Regions from separate parts of the Homo sapiens genome. Here all the other regions are linked to region 1. The links are contacts of gene promoters, found by promoter capture Hi-C in human tissues and cell types (Jung and others, 2019). All regions are on one chromosome and are shown on one strand. Each heading gives the region's core, a stretch centred on a gene start or on the middle of the fragment in contact. The rest is flanking DNA. Distances are from core to core; before and after follow the strand shown. Region 1 holds the start of ITGA2B (integrin subunit alpha 2b). Region 2 has its middle 33 kb from the start of FZD2. Region 3 has its middle 12 kb from the start of FZD2. Region 4 has its middle 6.6 kb from the start of FZD2.

Region 1 (3,768 bases), core at 874-3,373:
AAAAAAAGAAGAAAAAAAGTCTGGGCATGGTGGCTGAAGCCTGTAATCCCAGCACTTTGGGAGGCCAAGGCGGGTGGATCACCTGAAGTTGGGAGTTCGAGACCACCCTGACCAACATGGAGAAACCTCGTCTCTACTAAAAATACAAAATTAGCCGGGTGTGGTGGCACATGCCTGTAATCCCAGCTACGCGGGAGGCTGTGGCAGGAGAATCGCTTGAACCCGGGAGGCAGAAGTTGCGGTGAGCCAGTGATTGTGCCATTGCACTCCAGCCTGGGCAACAAGAGCGAAACCCCATCTCAAAAAAAAAAAAAAAAAAAAAAAAAAAAGAAGAAGAAGAAAAAAAGAATTGTCAGAGTTGATGAAAGAGGGCTGGACCCTTATCAAATGCCTCCCCCACACCTGCCTCCACTCTCCCCACTCACCCACTTCTCATTGATCAGACACTGGATGTGGGCCATCTTGGGAGGGGACTTGGAGTGAACTGGCTCTCTTCAGCAGAGGAAATCCCCTAAGTGGCTGACACTTGAAGGCTATCTGCCATTGCCACCCATTGCCACTCCCTGAAGCTGGTGGGCACAGTGTCTCTCACAATAGTAGCTCAGGGTACACGCTATGAAGAGGAGGAGCCAAGACTCTAATCTTGGCACTCTTGATTCTGAAGCCTGATCAATACTAATCATTAATGACCTATTGCTTCTTTTCAAATATTTATAATGTTGATGGAGATGAGGGAAATGGAACAGAAATGCAAGGTGCGGGAGGGTAGACAACTTTAGTTCTGCAAATCAATTTAGGACATGTGCTCCTCTCCACATTTCCTTTCTTTTTTTTTTTTTTTTTTTTTTGAGACAGAGTTTCGCTCTCGTTGCCCAGGCTGGAGTGCAATGGCATGATCTCGGCTCACCACAACCTCTGCCTCTCAGGTTCAAACGATTCTCCTGCCTCAGCCTCCCGAGTAGCTGGGATTACAAGCATGCGGCACCACGCCCGGCTAATTTTTTTTTTTTTGAGACGGAGTGTCACTCTGTCACCCAGGCTGGAGTGCAGTGGCATGATCTCAGCTCACTGCAACCTCCACCTCCCGGGTTCAAGTGATTCTCCTACCTCAGCCTCCCGAGTAGCTGGGACTACAGGAGTGTGCCACCACGCTCAGCTAATTTTTGTATTTTTAATAGAGACAGGGTTTCACCATATTGGCCAGGCTGGTCTTGAACTCCTGACCTCATGATCTGCCCACCTCTGCCTCCCAAAGTGCTGGGATTGCAGGTGTGAGCCACTGTGCCTGGTCTCTTTTTTTTTTTTTTTTTTGTATTTTTAGTAGAGACGGGGTTTCTCCATGTTGGTCAGGCTGGTCTCGAATTCTCGACCTCAGGTGATCTGCCCGCCTCGGCCTCCCAAAGTGCTGGGATTACAGGCATGAGCCACCGCGCCCGGCCTCCTCTCTGCATTTCAAGGTGTTGAGGGTGGAGTGGTTCATACAACTGACCCTTGGGGAAAAAATAAAGCATCAACTCTTGTCTTCCCTTTGTTCTTGCTGTAGTTTTCAGTGCCCATCAGCCCACATGTGCCCTGCCCTTATACCTTCACCTGAGCCAGTCCCCTGGACCCCAACATTCTTGACAAGAAATCAACCTGAATAGGCCCCACAAGTCACCTTGCTCAACTGCTATCGCAAATGGGAAACTCGAAGCCCCCAGAAGCAGTGATGGGGAGGGGTCCTGCTCTCTCCCAATACCCCAACTTCCCTTACGGCTCACCTCCCATGGCTGTCCTTGTGGAAGTCCAGTGAAAATCCAAACTGGCTGCCATTGGGGCCTGCATAGAAGGTGAGCTGCACTGGGTCCAGGTTCAAGGCCCAGGCTGGAGGGGCAGCACAAGGTCCCAAGAGCAGCAGCACCCACTCCAGAAGCCAGAGGGCTTGCAGTGGACACAAAGCTCTGGCCATCTTCCTTCTTCCACAACCTCCCAGGCAGGAATGGGCCAGCTCCTCCTCCTTCCCTTCAGATTCCTCCACAGGAAGTCTTTTCTTATCAAACTGGAACCCCAAGTAACTTGCTGAGCAACGGGCAGAGCAAAGGGCTATAGCCCCTGGACTCATGGTGGCTAGAATTGCCAGGAAGTGGGTGAGGCCACCCAGAGGGTGGATGCTCATGGCTGAAAGCCATGACTCCTCCCCTTTCCTGAGAATAGTTTATTACCATGTCCTATTGGTTCTGCCTATCAATGATGTCTCTTGAATCTTTACCCCATCTCTACTACCACCGTGCTAGTCCAAGCCACCATCACTTTCTGCTTGGGATAGCGTGATTGTGAACTGGTCCATACTTGTCTACTCTAGCCTACAGTTCTAATCTCCTCCCTTCCCCCATCTGGCTGTACAGCTGTGGTGCTTTGTGACTTGGCCACAGGTCGGGGAAGGAGAAGGAAGCTGCTGCCCCCGATAAAACCTGAGGCTTCTGTATCTTTTTGGATATGGCATTTACCCACTTCCTCCTTCTAGGACCTTGGGCGGCCTCAACCAGCCATATTGGTGCAGCAGCTTCCTCACTCCTCCTCCGTCTTGAGCCAAGCTTTAGTGTGGCCACAGCAGTGCAGTCAGTGCTGGGGACAGGGTGGTGAATGGACCTTGGTCTAGGTGGCAAGGAGATTGGGGATAAAGTGGAGTTATTCCAGGGAATTTTGACTCACAGTTTCTGAGATTATGCATTAGCTGTTCAGTTGAAGGTAGGCCCTCAATCCTTTTTGGGTGATGGAGCTCTTTAACCATTAAGACTTGATTCTGGTTGGGGGCTTTGCCTAGGGGAGCCTTCCCTGACTCCTCAGGCTGGCCGCGTGGGCTAACACACGTAGGCACAGCATTGAGCACACTGTTTACTCTTGGTCCGTTCACAGGATTGTGTAAATGAGTCCCTTGGGAGCAAGGCTCCTTGCTACAGCCCTAGAGACTACCCAAGAGTCCAATGTGTAGTACGTGTATTGCTGAAAGACTGGATGGAAACACACACTAAGGATGGAAGATGCAAACATAGGGTGACAAAGTGAAGGGATGAGTTTTGAGCAGAAAGGCAAAGTCATTTTCTCTCGGTAAGCGGAAGAGGAGGAGTGCCAAGTCTTACTGGCACTCATGCCTTCCCAAAAAAGCAGGTTCTCAGGAAGATTTAAGAGGTCCGCTAGGGGTAACCATAGCCACATTTTCCTTTTGATTTCTATTTTCTGATCAAACTTAACCATTGCCGTATCCTGCTCAACCACCCTGTACCATTTTGAAGTCCCCTCGTAATTTACTACCTCAGCCTAGAGTTAAGAATCTTATCCTTTATAGGACAGGAAGCTAAAAGCCTGAACTTTGGTCTGGGCCTTCTTCATTGCTGAGTTCCCAGTGTCAAGTACATGGGAGGCGTGTAATTAATGTATTTGCTTGAACGAATACTTAACCCAGTCCTCTACTTACCTTCTATCCTCCCACTGTCCTCAGGTGAGTGATTGCTGTATTACTGGTGTATTCTGTGAGGCCAAATATGAACTTACATTTCACTCAAGTTTTCAATAAGTATTTACTCTGTTCAAGGCACTGTGTTGATAAAGGATACAAAGATAACCATTAGGCCAGGTATAGTGGCTCATGCCTGTAATCCCAGCACTTTGGGAGGCTGAGGCAGGAGGATGGCTTGAGCTCAGGCATTTAAGACCAGCCTAGGCAATACAGTGAGACCTCGTCTCTATTTTAAAATTATAAAAAATAAAATATTTTAAAAACTCCAAAGA
Region 2 (3,768 bases), core at 715-3,214, 200 kb after region 1:
GGAGTGGAGTGGTGTGAAGACAGCTCACTGTAGCCTTGACCTCCTAGGCTCAAGCGATCTTCCCACCTCAGCCTCTCAAGTAGCTAGAACCACAGGTACACGCCACGATGCCTAGCTAATTATTTTTTCAATTTTGTAGAGATGGGGTCTCGCCATGTTGCCCAGGCTGGTCTTGAACTCCTGGGTTCAAGCAATCCTCCCACCTCGGCCTCCCAAAATACTGGGATTACAGGCATCAGCCACGGCACCCAGCATTCTCCTGTTTCCCATCAACCATATCAGCCCATCAAATCTTTCACAATACAAGAAGGGTGGGTGGGGAGGGGGAAGAGTTTTCCTTTTCCGTCTTACTCCTTTTTCTTCTTTGGATTCCCTATATTTTGGGTGTCGGTAGAAGTCTGAAATGCAAATAAGAATGTCCCACTCTGAAGGCACAGGGAGGGGCTGCTGAATTATTACCCTCTAAATTCTAGCACGTTAGACAGTTCTGGTCTCCTTGCATTCTTGGAGGATGCAAGGACCTGACTGTAATGTGCGGGGGAGACAGTTTGGTCTCTGGGAACCCCCAGTCTGGTGGAGGAACTTAGACTAAAGCAATGGAAGACTGACAGAGCAATATGGTCACAATTGCAAATCCTTCAAAATGCCGGTGCTACAGAGAATAATCAGCATTGTGGCATGACTGTCCAGAAGCAAGTTTTGAACCATTCTGAATAACGGAAGTCCCAGGATCCTTTATTTAAAAAAAAAAAAGTGTAGAGACAGGGTCTTGTTATGTTGTCCAGGCTGGCCTTGAACTGCTGGTCTCAAGCAATTCTTCTGCCTTAGCCTCTCAAGGTGCTGGGATTACAGGCATGAGCCCCTGCACCTGGCCACTCACCCAGGTTTCTTGAAGCAGTATTTTCTCTTCTTTGGGATTAGCCAAGGGCATCTGGAGAAGCAATGAGAACTACCTCCTTTGAGGGGAGAGCGGCCACTTGCACACAGGCTGGGACACCATCTCATAGCTAATAATGACGTTGGTGTGGTCATTTTTCCCAGCTACACAAGCACAAGTCACTTACCACTCACAACCACCCTGTAGGGCGGGTGGCTATGATCACCCCCATTTTCTAAGTGAGGTTCTAAGAAATGAAATCACTGGCAGCTGGCTCACTGATTTGGGGCCAAGCCCAGGTCTTCTGAACGTAAGTCTAGTGGTTATTCTGCTATGCTGCTTGGTCACTTATGAGGCTGGTGTCTAGAGTCATTACTGAGTCTCCAAGTCCCCACTGTCTGCCCCATCCTTGACCCACACAAGTGCCCTGTTCAGTGTTCTGAGGGAAGGCGGAAAGACTCATGCTCAGGACTCAGGCTTCCCAGGCTCCTCATGCTGTTCCTAGGCTTGGTTTGACACCTCTCTTCCCCTATCCTGCCTACCCCTCCCACCCACACCCTCCTAGCCCCAGCTGACTTAGAGGCAGGGAGAGGGAGGCAAGGCCAGAAGGCTTTTGTTTTTCTACGATGGAGAGATGACTGAAATCCCGCCATCTCCCGCAGAAGACAGAGGCAGCTCTGGATTTCCTGTTGCTCTCAACACGGGCCAGATAATTGGAGACAGATTTTGGACTTGGGTTGGGAGGTGAAGTTTGAAATACAGTCGTCAGGCCTCCTGTAAGTTCGTGTGTGTGAGTGCACACTGCTTGGTTGGGGTTTTTTATTAGCTATATGTGTATCTGTGTGTGTGTGCAGATACTTGTATTGGAAATAGTGTATTGTGTCTAGTGTGTGCATGTGTGTTTGTGTGTATTGTATCTAGTGTGTTCATGTGTGTATTGTGTCTAGTGTGTGCATGTGCGTTTGTATGTATTGTGTCTAGTGTGTTCATGTGTGTTTGTGTATTGTGTCTAGTGTGTGCATGTGTGTGTATTGTGTCTAGTGTGTGCATGTGTGTTTGTATGTATTGTGTCTAGTGTGTTCATGTGTGTTTGTGTATTGTGTCTAGTGTGTGCATGTGTTTGTATATGTTGTGTCTAGTGTGTTCATGTGTGTTTGTGTATTGTCTAGTGTGTGCATGTGTGTGTGTACTGTGTCTAGTGTGTTCATGTGTGTTTGTGTATTGTCTAGTGTGTGCATGTGTGTTTGTGTATACCGTGTCTAGTGTGTGCATGTGTGTATGTATTATGTCTAGTGTGTGCATGTGTGTTTGTATTATGTCTAGTGTGTGCATGTGTGTTTGTATGTATTATGTCTAGTGTGTGCATGTGTGTTTGTATGGTGTCTAGTGTGTGCATGTGTGTTTGTATTGTGTCTAGTGTGTTCATGTGTGTTTGTATTGTGTCTAGTGTGCATGTGTGTTTGTGTGTATTGTGTCTAGTGTGTTCATGTGTGTTTGTGTATTGTGTCTAGTGTGTGCATGTGTTTGTGTGTATTGTGTCTAGTGTGTTCACGTGTTTGTATTGTCTAGTGTGTGTGTATTGTGTCTAGTGTGTTCATGTGTGTTTGTGTATTGTCTAGTGTGTGCATGTGTGTGTATTGTGTCTAGTGTGCATGTGTGTGTATTGTGTCTAGTGTGTTCATGTGTGTTTGTATGTATTGTGTCTAGTGTGTGCATGTGTTTGTGTATTGTGTCTAGTGTGTGCATGTGTGTTTGTGTGTATTGTGTCTAGTGTGTGCATGTGTTTGTGTGTATTGTGTCTAGTGTGTTCACATGTGTTTGTATTGTGTCTAGTGTGTGTATTGTGTCTAGTGTTCATGTGTGTTTGTATTGTGTCTAGTGTGTTCATGTGTGTTTGTGTATTGTGTCTAGTGTGTGCATGTGTGTTTGTGTGTATCGTGTCTACTGTGTGCATGTGTTTGTGTGTATTGTGTCTAGTGTGTTCATGTGTGTTTGTGTATTGTGTCTAGTGTGTGCATGTGTGTTTGGTACCTGTGCTCCTTGTACATCTTTAGTGTTTAAGACTCCGCGTGTATGTGTATGTGTGAGAAAGTATGTAAGTGTGTGTCTGGGGCTCTGTGAGTGGCTCCCTTGTTTTGTTTAATTTTTTTTCCTTTGTGAGATTCAGTCTGGCTTGGAGAGTCCCCACCAGTCCTTTCAGGATCTTATTACTCACGACTTGGTGATTAAATGTAATACAATAATTAAGATTTTTTTTTAAAAAGGAAGGAAGGCAGATGGCCTTCGGGGAGATAACATGAGGGGTAGAAAGCAGCCAGAGTGCCTTGAGAGCAGACAGCCAAGGGTGAAGGGGACCTGCAGGGCAGAGGGGCTCTTTTAGGAGGTACAGACAAGGCCCCAGTTTCCCCCCATCTCTCTGATGGAAAAAGGCAACACGCGCTTCCACAACGGTTTAGCTGCCTCTACCCCTGAAGGTTGGGCAGGGGAGGGGCTCCTATTGCCTTCCTGCCTGAATCTCTACCCTGGAAGAAGAATCAAGCCCCTTTCTTCTAAAGGCCTACGTGCACATTCACTAATGCGAATTTTGCTATAAATGACATGCAGACCAGTTAGGAAGTAGTCTTCTCATAACAACAACCACAGCTAGCCATGGTGTACCTGCAGCACATCAGACTCCAGCTGGGTACTTTACATGTGTTTTTGTATCTGTGTGTGTGTGTGTAAAATCACTTATAAGCTTGTTATTACCTTTTTGCAGAGGAAACTGAGGCTTATGATAGATGAGTAAGGACTTTAACCCTTCATGGTGATAGTTCATTTGTTCATCCAACAAATGTGTATTGAATACTTTTTTTTTTTTTTTTTTGAGACAGGGTCTGGCTCTGTTACCC
Region 3 (3,768 bases), core at 379-2,878, 180 kb after region 1:
CCCCCAAGTGGCTAGGACTACAGGTGTGTGCCACCACAGCTGACTAATTTTTGTGTGTGTGTGTGTGGTTTTTTTGTTTTGTTTTGGTTTGGTTTTTTTAGTAGAGACAGGGTTTTGCCATATTGCCCAGGCTGGTTTTGAACTCCTGAGCTCGAGTGATCCGCCTGCCTTGGCCTCCCAGAGTGCTAGGATTACAGGTGTGAGCCACCGTGCCTGGACTTGTGTTGTACTTTCTATAATGTATAATGACATATATACAACATTAAAGTATCACACAGACTATTTTCGCTGACCTAAATATCCTCTATGCTCTACCTATTCAACCCTCCCAGCCCCACCAACCCCTAGCAACCACTGATCTTTTTACTGTCTCCACAGTTTTGCCTTTTCTAGAATATCATAGAGTTGGAATCATACTATATGTAGCCTTTTCAGATTGGCTTCTTTGACTTAGTAATATGCATTTCAGGTTCCTCCACGTGTTTTTGAGAGGTGACAGCCTGCTGGCAGCCCTCGCTCACTCTCGGCGCCTCCTCTGCCTGGGCTCCCACTTTGGCGGCACGTGAGGAGCCCTTCAGCCCACCACTGCACTGTGGGAGCCCCTTCCTGGGCTGCCCAAGGCTGGAGCTGGCTCCCTCAGCTTGCGGGGAGGTGTGGAGGGAGAGGCGCGGGCAGGAACTGGGGCTGCACGGGGCGCTTGGGGGCCAGCGCGAGTTCTGGGTGGGCGTGGGCTCGGCGGGCCCCGCACTCGTAGCGGCCAGCCAGCCCGCAAGCCCCGGGCAGTGAGGGGCTTAGCACCTGGGCCAGTAGCTGCTGTGCTGGATTTCTCGCCAGGCCTTAGCTGCCTCCCTGCTGGGCAGGGCTCGGGACCTGCAGCCCACTATGCCTGAGCCTCCACCCCTTCCTCTCCCCCACGCCGTGGGCTCCTGCACGGCCCGAGCCTCCCGGAGAGCGCTGCCCCCTGCTCTAGGGCGCCCAGTCCCATCGATCACCCAAGGGCTGAGGAGTGTGGGTTCACAGCGCGGGACCCGCAGGCAGCTCCACCTGTGGCCCCGATGCGGGATCCACTGGGTGAAGCCAGCTGGGCTCCTGAGTCTAGTGGGGACTTGGGGAGCTTTTATGTCTAGCTGGGGGATTGTGGATACACCAATCAGCACTCTGTATCTAGCTCAAGGTTTGTAAACACACCAATCAGCACGCTGTGTCTAGCTCAGGGTTTGTGAATGCAGCAATGGACACTCTGTGTCTAGCTAATCTAGTGGGGACGTGGAGAACTTTTGTGTCTAGCTCAGGGATTGTAAACGCACCAATCAGCACCCTGTCAAAATGGACCAATCAGCTCTCTGTAAAACAGACCAATCGGCGCTCTGTAAAATGGACCAATCAGCAGGATGTGGGTGGGGCCAGATAGGAGAATAAAAGCAGACTGCCCCGACTCAGCAGTGCAAGCAGACTGCCCCGACTCAGCAGTGGCAATGTACTCGGGTCCTATTTCTCCGGGGGGGGGGGGGGGGGGGGGGTTGGGGGGTGGAGAGAGGAAGCTTTATTCTTTCACTTTTTGGAATAAATTTTGTTGCTGTTTGTTCTTTGGATCTACACTACTTTTATGAGTTGTAACACTCACCGGGAAGGTCTGCAGCTTTGCTCCTGAAGCCAGCGAGACCACGAACCCACCGGGAGGAACGAACAACTCCAGATGCGTCGACTTAAGAGCTGTAACACTCACTGCGAAAGTCTGCAGCTTTACTCCTGAGCTAGTGAGACCACGAACCCACCAGGAGGAAGAAACTCTGAACACATCCGAACGTCAGAAAGAATAAACTCTGGACACGCCGCCTTTAAGAACTGTAACACTTACCGCGAGGGTCTGCGGCTTCATTCTTGAAGTCAGTGAGACCAAGAACCCACCAATTCTGGACACATTTTCGTGGTTTGATAGCACGTTTCCTTTTAGCACTGAATAATGTCTGGCTATTCCACAGTTTTTCAAAGCAGATTAATTATGCCCTGGCTACCAACTTGCTTGAGTTGGGTGGAACAGAAAAACCCCCCCAATCAAATAAGCTACACGCACCAGATGTATTACTTACAGATAGGCAGCAAGGGACAGCGTAGCCTAGGACTCAGCCAGTCCCCCGAGGCTCACAAAAGCTGCCTGGGGTGAATGGAGTCTTGTCAGTGTGTATGTCTTGCTTACCTCACTAGCAAACTGCCCTGGGTTTTGTATCCTAGGGACAACAGGACTTGGTGGGCTAAAATGTTGAAGGACGTCCTATTTCTTTCTTGTTTTCTTTTTTTTTAAAGGATATTCTATTTCTAGGAGGGCCTGGAATAGAGCTCAGGCTGTGCTGTCCAGTCCCTCGTTATCCCAGGATGCTGCATTCCCAGAACAATCTACGGTTATTCTTGAATACTATAAGTGAGAAAGCGGAGAACTGGGTGGCCCAAGGCCACCCGGAGAACTGTCTGGTAAGTTTATTCACCTATCGAAGGGCATCTTCGTTGCTTCTAAGCTTTGGTAATTATAAAGCTGCTGTAAACATCCATGTACAGGTTTTTATGTAGACATAATTTTTTTTTTTTTTGAGACAAAGTCTCGCTCTCTTTCCCCAGGCTGGAGTGCAGTGGCATGATCTAGGTTCACTGCAACTTCCGCCTCTCGGGTTCAAGCGATTGTCCTGCCTCAGCCTCCTGGGTAGCTGGGATTACAGGTGCCTGCCACCACACCCAGCTAATTTTTGTATTTTTAGTAGAGACGGCATTTTACCATGTTGGACAGGCTGGTCTTGAACTCCTGACCTCAGGTGATCCGCCCATCTCGCCTCCCAAAGTGCTGGGATTACAGGCGTGAGCCACCGTGCCCGGCCACCTAGACGTAAATTTTTAACACGTGGGTAAATACCAAGGTGCTTGATTGCTGGATTGTATGGTAAAAGTATGTTTAGTGGTGTAAGAAACTGCCAAACTATCTTCCAAAGTGGTTGTACCGTGTTACATTCCCACCAGCAGTGAATGAGGGTTTCTGTTATTCCACATCCTCCACGGCATTTGGTATTGTCAGTATTCCAGATTTGGGCCATTCCAATAGATACGTAGTAGTATTTCATTGTTTGAATTTGCATTTTCCCGATGACATAGGATATAGAGGTCTTTTCATATGCTTACCTTCCATCTGTATGTCTTTGGTGAGATGTGTGTTAGGGTCTTTGGTCCTTTTTTTTTTTTTTTTTTTGAGGCACCTGCCGCCACCACGCCTGGTTATTTTTTTTTTGTATTTTTAGTAGAGATGGGGTTTCGCCGTGTTAGCCAGGATGGTCTCAATCTTCTGACCTCAGGATCCGCCCGCCTTGGCCTCCCAAAGTGCTTACAGGCGTGAGCCACTGCGCCCGGCCTGGTCCATTTTTTAATTGGGTTATTTGATTTCTTATTGTTGAGTTTCAAGAGTTTTTGGCTCGGCATGGTGGCTCATGTCTGTAATCCCAACACTTTAGGAGTCAAGGCAGGAGGATTTCTTGAGCCCAGGAATTTGAGGCCAGTCTGGGCAACATAGCAAGACCCTGTCTCTACAAAAAAAATTTAAAAATTAGCCGGGCATGGTGGCGCATACCTGTAGTCCCAGCTACTCTGGGGGGCTGAAGCAGGAGGACTACTTGAGCCCAGGGAGATGAAGGTTGCAGTGAGCCATGATCATGTCACTGCACTACAGCCTGGGTGACGATGCAAGATCATGTCTCAAATAAATAAATAGTGGCTGGGCGCAGTGGCTTA
Region 4 (3,768 bases), core at 383-2,882, 160 kb after region 1:
TCTTACTTTTATTTCTCTCTCCTTCTCTTTTTTTCTTTCTTTTTGAGATAGTGTCTCACTCCCGTTGCCCAGGCCAGAGTGCAGTGGCAGGATCACAGCTCACTGCAGCCTCCACTCAGGTGATCCTTCCACTTCAGCCTCCTGAGTAGCTGGGACCATAGGCATGCACCACCACACCAGGCTATTTTTATTTTTAAGATTTTTAAATTTTTAGTAGAGACAGTTTTGTCATGTTGCCTAGGCTGGTCTCCAACTCCTAGGCTCCAGTGATTCACCAGCCTCATCTTTCCAAAGTGCTGGGATTACTACTGTGCCCGGTCTGTGGCCCATTTCTAAGGGTCATTTCCCTGAGATCTAAATGGAGGATGGAGTGCAGGGAGAAGGAATTTGATACCTCACCTGAAGGTGGATTCAAGGTCTTGATGGACAGGTTCAGGGAGAGAGGAGGAAAGGTGAATTCACCTAAAGCAGAGGCATATTGTGTGGGTCAGGGGAGAGGGGAGCCAAGGAGACTGATTCTCTGAATGCTCAGACCTGTTTTCCACAAAGTATCTAGGACCCACCCCGTTTAGAGCAGAACATTTTTGCTTAGAGAATAAAACCATTGAGGCTCCTAAAGTATCTGAAATTAAGTCCTCCTCCTTGATCTCTGTCTCCTAAACAGATACACATAGCCCTTCCCTCTTTAGGGTGGAGGGACCTCAGTGCTTTGAAAAGGAAAGAACACTGACCCAGAATTGAGGAAACAAAGAGGGGACCTGTCCTCTGGCAGGCTCATTGGAGCAGGGGGAATTCCCTCGGGAGTCACCATACCAGGCATTGTCCCTTAGATTAGCCCTCAAGGACAGAGGGGACAGCTTCTCTGGAAAGCAAGGGCTCTAGAGGAAAACGTGCAAGGAGACCTGGACATGTGTGATTACCTAAACTGTGACGGGGGAAGGTGAAAGGCCAGAGACAGGAGGATATTTTGCGGGGAGTGGGAGCCCTAGGCAATCTCCCCAGGTTTCCTTAGCGGGGAGAAGTTCTCCGTGCTCTCCTCTCCTGAGCATGCCTGTGTGTGTTGGATGTTGCTGACTGTCATTTCACTTATCTGTGACACACAAGTCTTTCATCTTGTTTGGGTGGCATGAAGCAAGGAGAGTTTCAATGATCCAAGCATCATATTCTCACAGCCTCCTACATCTGGCTCAAGGGTAAAATCAATAAATTGTTTTATGATCCCTTTCTACTGATGAAAAAGCTGCAGCTAAGGAAGGGATGGTGACTTGCCTAAGCTACTGGGCCAGTGGGGCTGGAGCCAGGCCTGCAGCCCAGACATTTGGAGCCCCAGACCAGGTTTCTTTCCACTCCAACAGCTATTTTCTCTGCTCTCCTGTTAGGTTGAGATTTCTGCTCCTGCCAAGCCCATCCTACAGAACGGGGGAATGGACCCTGCAGCAGATTTACAGTAGGTACCCAACAATTATCCCAGATATCAGATTTGGTTTTTTTTTTGTTTGTTTGTTTTTTGAGATGGGTTCTCACTCTGTTGTCCAGGCTGGAGTGCGGTGGGGTGATCACAGCTTATGCAGCCTCAAACTTCTGGGCTCAAGTGATCCACCCGCTTCAGCCTCCTGAGTAGCTGCGACTACAGGTGCATGCTACCACACCAGACTAATTTTAAAATTTTCTGTAGAGATAGGGCCTGGCTATCTTGCCTAGGCTGGCTCAAGCAATTCTCCCACCTTAGCCTCCTAAAGTGCTAGGATTACAGGTGTGAACCACTCCACCTGGTCCTAGATGTCAGATTTGTAAGCAGACACGATTAACAGTGGTACTTCGGGGTTTGGGGGAGAAGTGGCACTTCTGTGCACTGGGGACACCTAGGCTCCCAGCCCACAGCAGAAGCCCAAGACTAAAGAGAAATGTTCCTTAGGGAGCGATAGCAGAATGTGGCCCCCTAGACTGTAGGCTCCCTGAAGCTGGAGGCTGAGTCTCTGCAGACTATCTGCTTTGCATGTAGTAGATGCTCAATAATTTATTGGATAAAATAATAGCTACTATTACCAAGCTTTTAGTCTAGCACCAGGTCATAGTGAGTGTCATATGCTGTCTCATTTAATTCTCACAACTGAAATAAGAAAAATAAAAATTCTGGGCCAGGTGCGGTGGCTCACACCTGTTATCCCAGCACTTTGGGAGGCTGAGGTGGGCAGATCACTTGAGGTCAGGAGTTCAAGACCAACCTGGCCAACATGGTGAAACCCTGTCTCTACTGAAAATACAAAAATTAGCCGGGCATGGTGGCTTACGCCTGTAATCCTAGCACTTTGGGAGGCTGAGGCGGGCGGATCACGAGGTCAGGAGATCGAGACCATCCTGGCTAACATGGTGAAACCCCATTTCTACTAAAAATACAAAAAAATTAGCCGGGCATGGTGGTGGGCACCTGTAGTCCCAGCTATTCAGGAGGCTGAGGCAGGAGAATGGCGTGAATCCAGGAGGCGGAGCTTGCAGTGAGCTGAGATGGAGCCACTGCACTCCAGCCTGGGGGACAGAGCGAGACTCCATCTCAAAAAAAAAAAAAAATTAGCTGGGCATGGTGGTGGACACCTGTAATCCCAACTACTCAAGGAAGGAGAATCCCTTGAACCAGGGAGGCAGAGGTTGCAATGAGTGAGATCGAGCCACTGCACTCCAGCCTGGGCAATGGAGCAAGACCCTGTCTCAAAAACAAAAACAAAGAAAGAAAACAAAAACCTGACTTGAAGCTCTCAGACCCAGAAGAAACAAACCTTGTGACATCCTCATGTTGGCTAGAATCTCTGCTGGCCCAAACACCTCTTCTCAGTCTCCTTCCTTATTGGCCCCAGGGCCTTTAAATGTTGACATCCCCAAAGCTTTGGCCTTCCCACCCTATCCATCTTCCCTAGGTGATCTTAGCCATGCTCATACCATCAGACATAGGCTGAAGGTGCCAGATCTAAATCTAGCCCAGAGTTCTGACCTGAGCACTGAGTTAGATTATTCGCCTGCCTTCTGGACACCTTCTCTTGGATGTGCCATAGGACCAGGCTTGCATGACTGCACTCATTATCTGCCCTTTCCCTGCATTTCCCAGCCTGGTTAATAGCATTAGGGCACCTAGGTCAGAGCCTTGGTTGATCTCGTCCCTTACTCTCTCTCCTTACCATCTGCACTGTCACATCTCAGTTCCTGCCGTCACCATTTCTTGCCTGGTCTCTTGTGATCAATCTGTAACTGGTATCTCAGGCTCCCGGCATGATGCTCCTCAAAACTGCCCAAATGCACTAGTTAAAATGCAAATGTGACCTCTTCCTTTCCCAAAATTCTCCAGTATATCCTCATCTCCAGGAGCCCAGACCGTGTGCAAGGTATCCAAGATCTCTGACTACTTAAAGCCTCCTCTGCCGTCGTTCTCCTAGATGCACGTGGGACTCTCACAGGGCCAAAGTCTTGCGCTGCCTCCCTACTCCATCTATTTCACCCCACCACGCCCTTGCACACAATGTTCCCTCTGTCTGGAATGCCTGTCCCTCCCTTGTCTGTTTACATGTCTGTTTCCCTGTTAGATTGTGAGTTCATGTTTCTACATCCAACACCTCACACGTGATCTGTGAGGCCCTGCAACTCTGATCCCTGCTGGCCTCTTTACCTCGTCCTACTTTGCTCCTCACTCCAACCACACAGCCTCTCTTGCCCTCCCCGACTCAGTCAGATTCCCTCCCCAATTATGCTTTCAAAGAACTACGGATCTTCCCTTCACAG

What was found. Contacts are between HindIII fragments. The study calls those that stand out against the background at their distance.
Region 2: a fragment that was not itself captured here is called in contact with the fragment with the promoter of ITGA2B in region 1 in 1 of the 25 tissues and cell types used here (psoas muscle).
Region 3: a fragment that was not itself captured here is called in contact with the fragment with the promoter of ITGA2B in region 1 in 1 of the 25 tissues and cell types used here (IMR-90 fibroblasts).
Region 4: a contact is called between a fragment that was not itself captured here and the fragment with the promoter of ITGA2B in region 1, in 2 of the 25 tissues and cell types used here (lymphoblastoid cells and thymus).

What each region holds. Positions count from the first base shown.
Region 1 is chr17:44,387,526-44,391,293 of GRCh38, forward strand. It overlaps ITGA2B (integrin subunit alpha 2b), which reads right to left and starts at 2,124. Exons shown (of 30, transcript NM_000419.5): 1 at 1,761-2,124. The coding sequence starts at 1,948. RefSeq lists an enhancer at 2,281-2,340. The HindIII fragment of the contact is 17,139 bases long and covers 1-3,384 here.
Region 2 is chr17:44,588,336-44,592,103 of GRCh38, forward strand. No RefSeq gene overlaps it. Among named protein-coding and RNA genes, the nearest start is that of FZD2, 33 kb to the left of the region's middle. The HindIII fragment of the contact is 5,617 bases long and covers 1-3,768 here.
Region 3 is chr17:44,567,558-44,571,325 of GRCh38, forward strand. No RefSeq gene overlaps it. Among named protein-coding and RNA genes, the nearest start is that of FZD2, 12 kb to the left of the region's middle. The HindIII fragment of the contact is 4,266 bases long and covers 1-3,761 here.
Region 4 is chr17:44,549,044-44,552,811 of GRCh38, forward strand. No RefSeq gene overlaps it. Among named protein-coding and RNA genes, the nearest start is that of FZD2, 6.6 kb to the right of the region's middle. The HindIII fragment of the contact is 6,889 bases long and covers 1-3,768 here.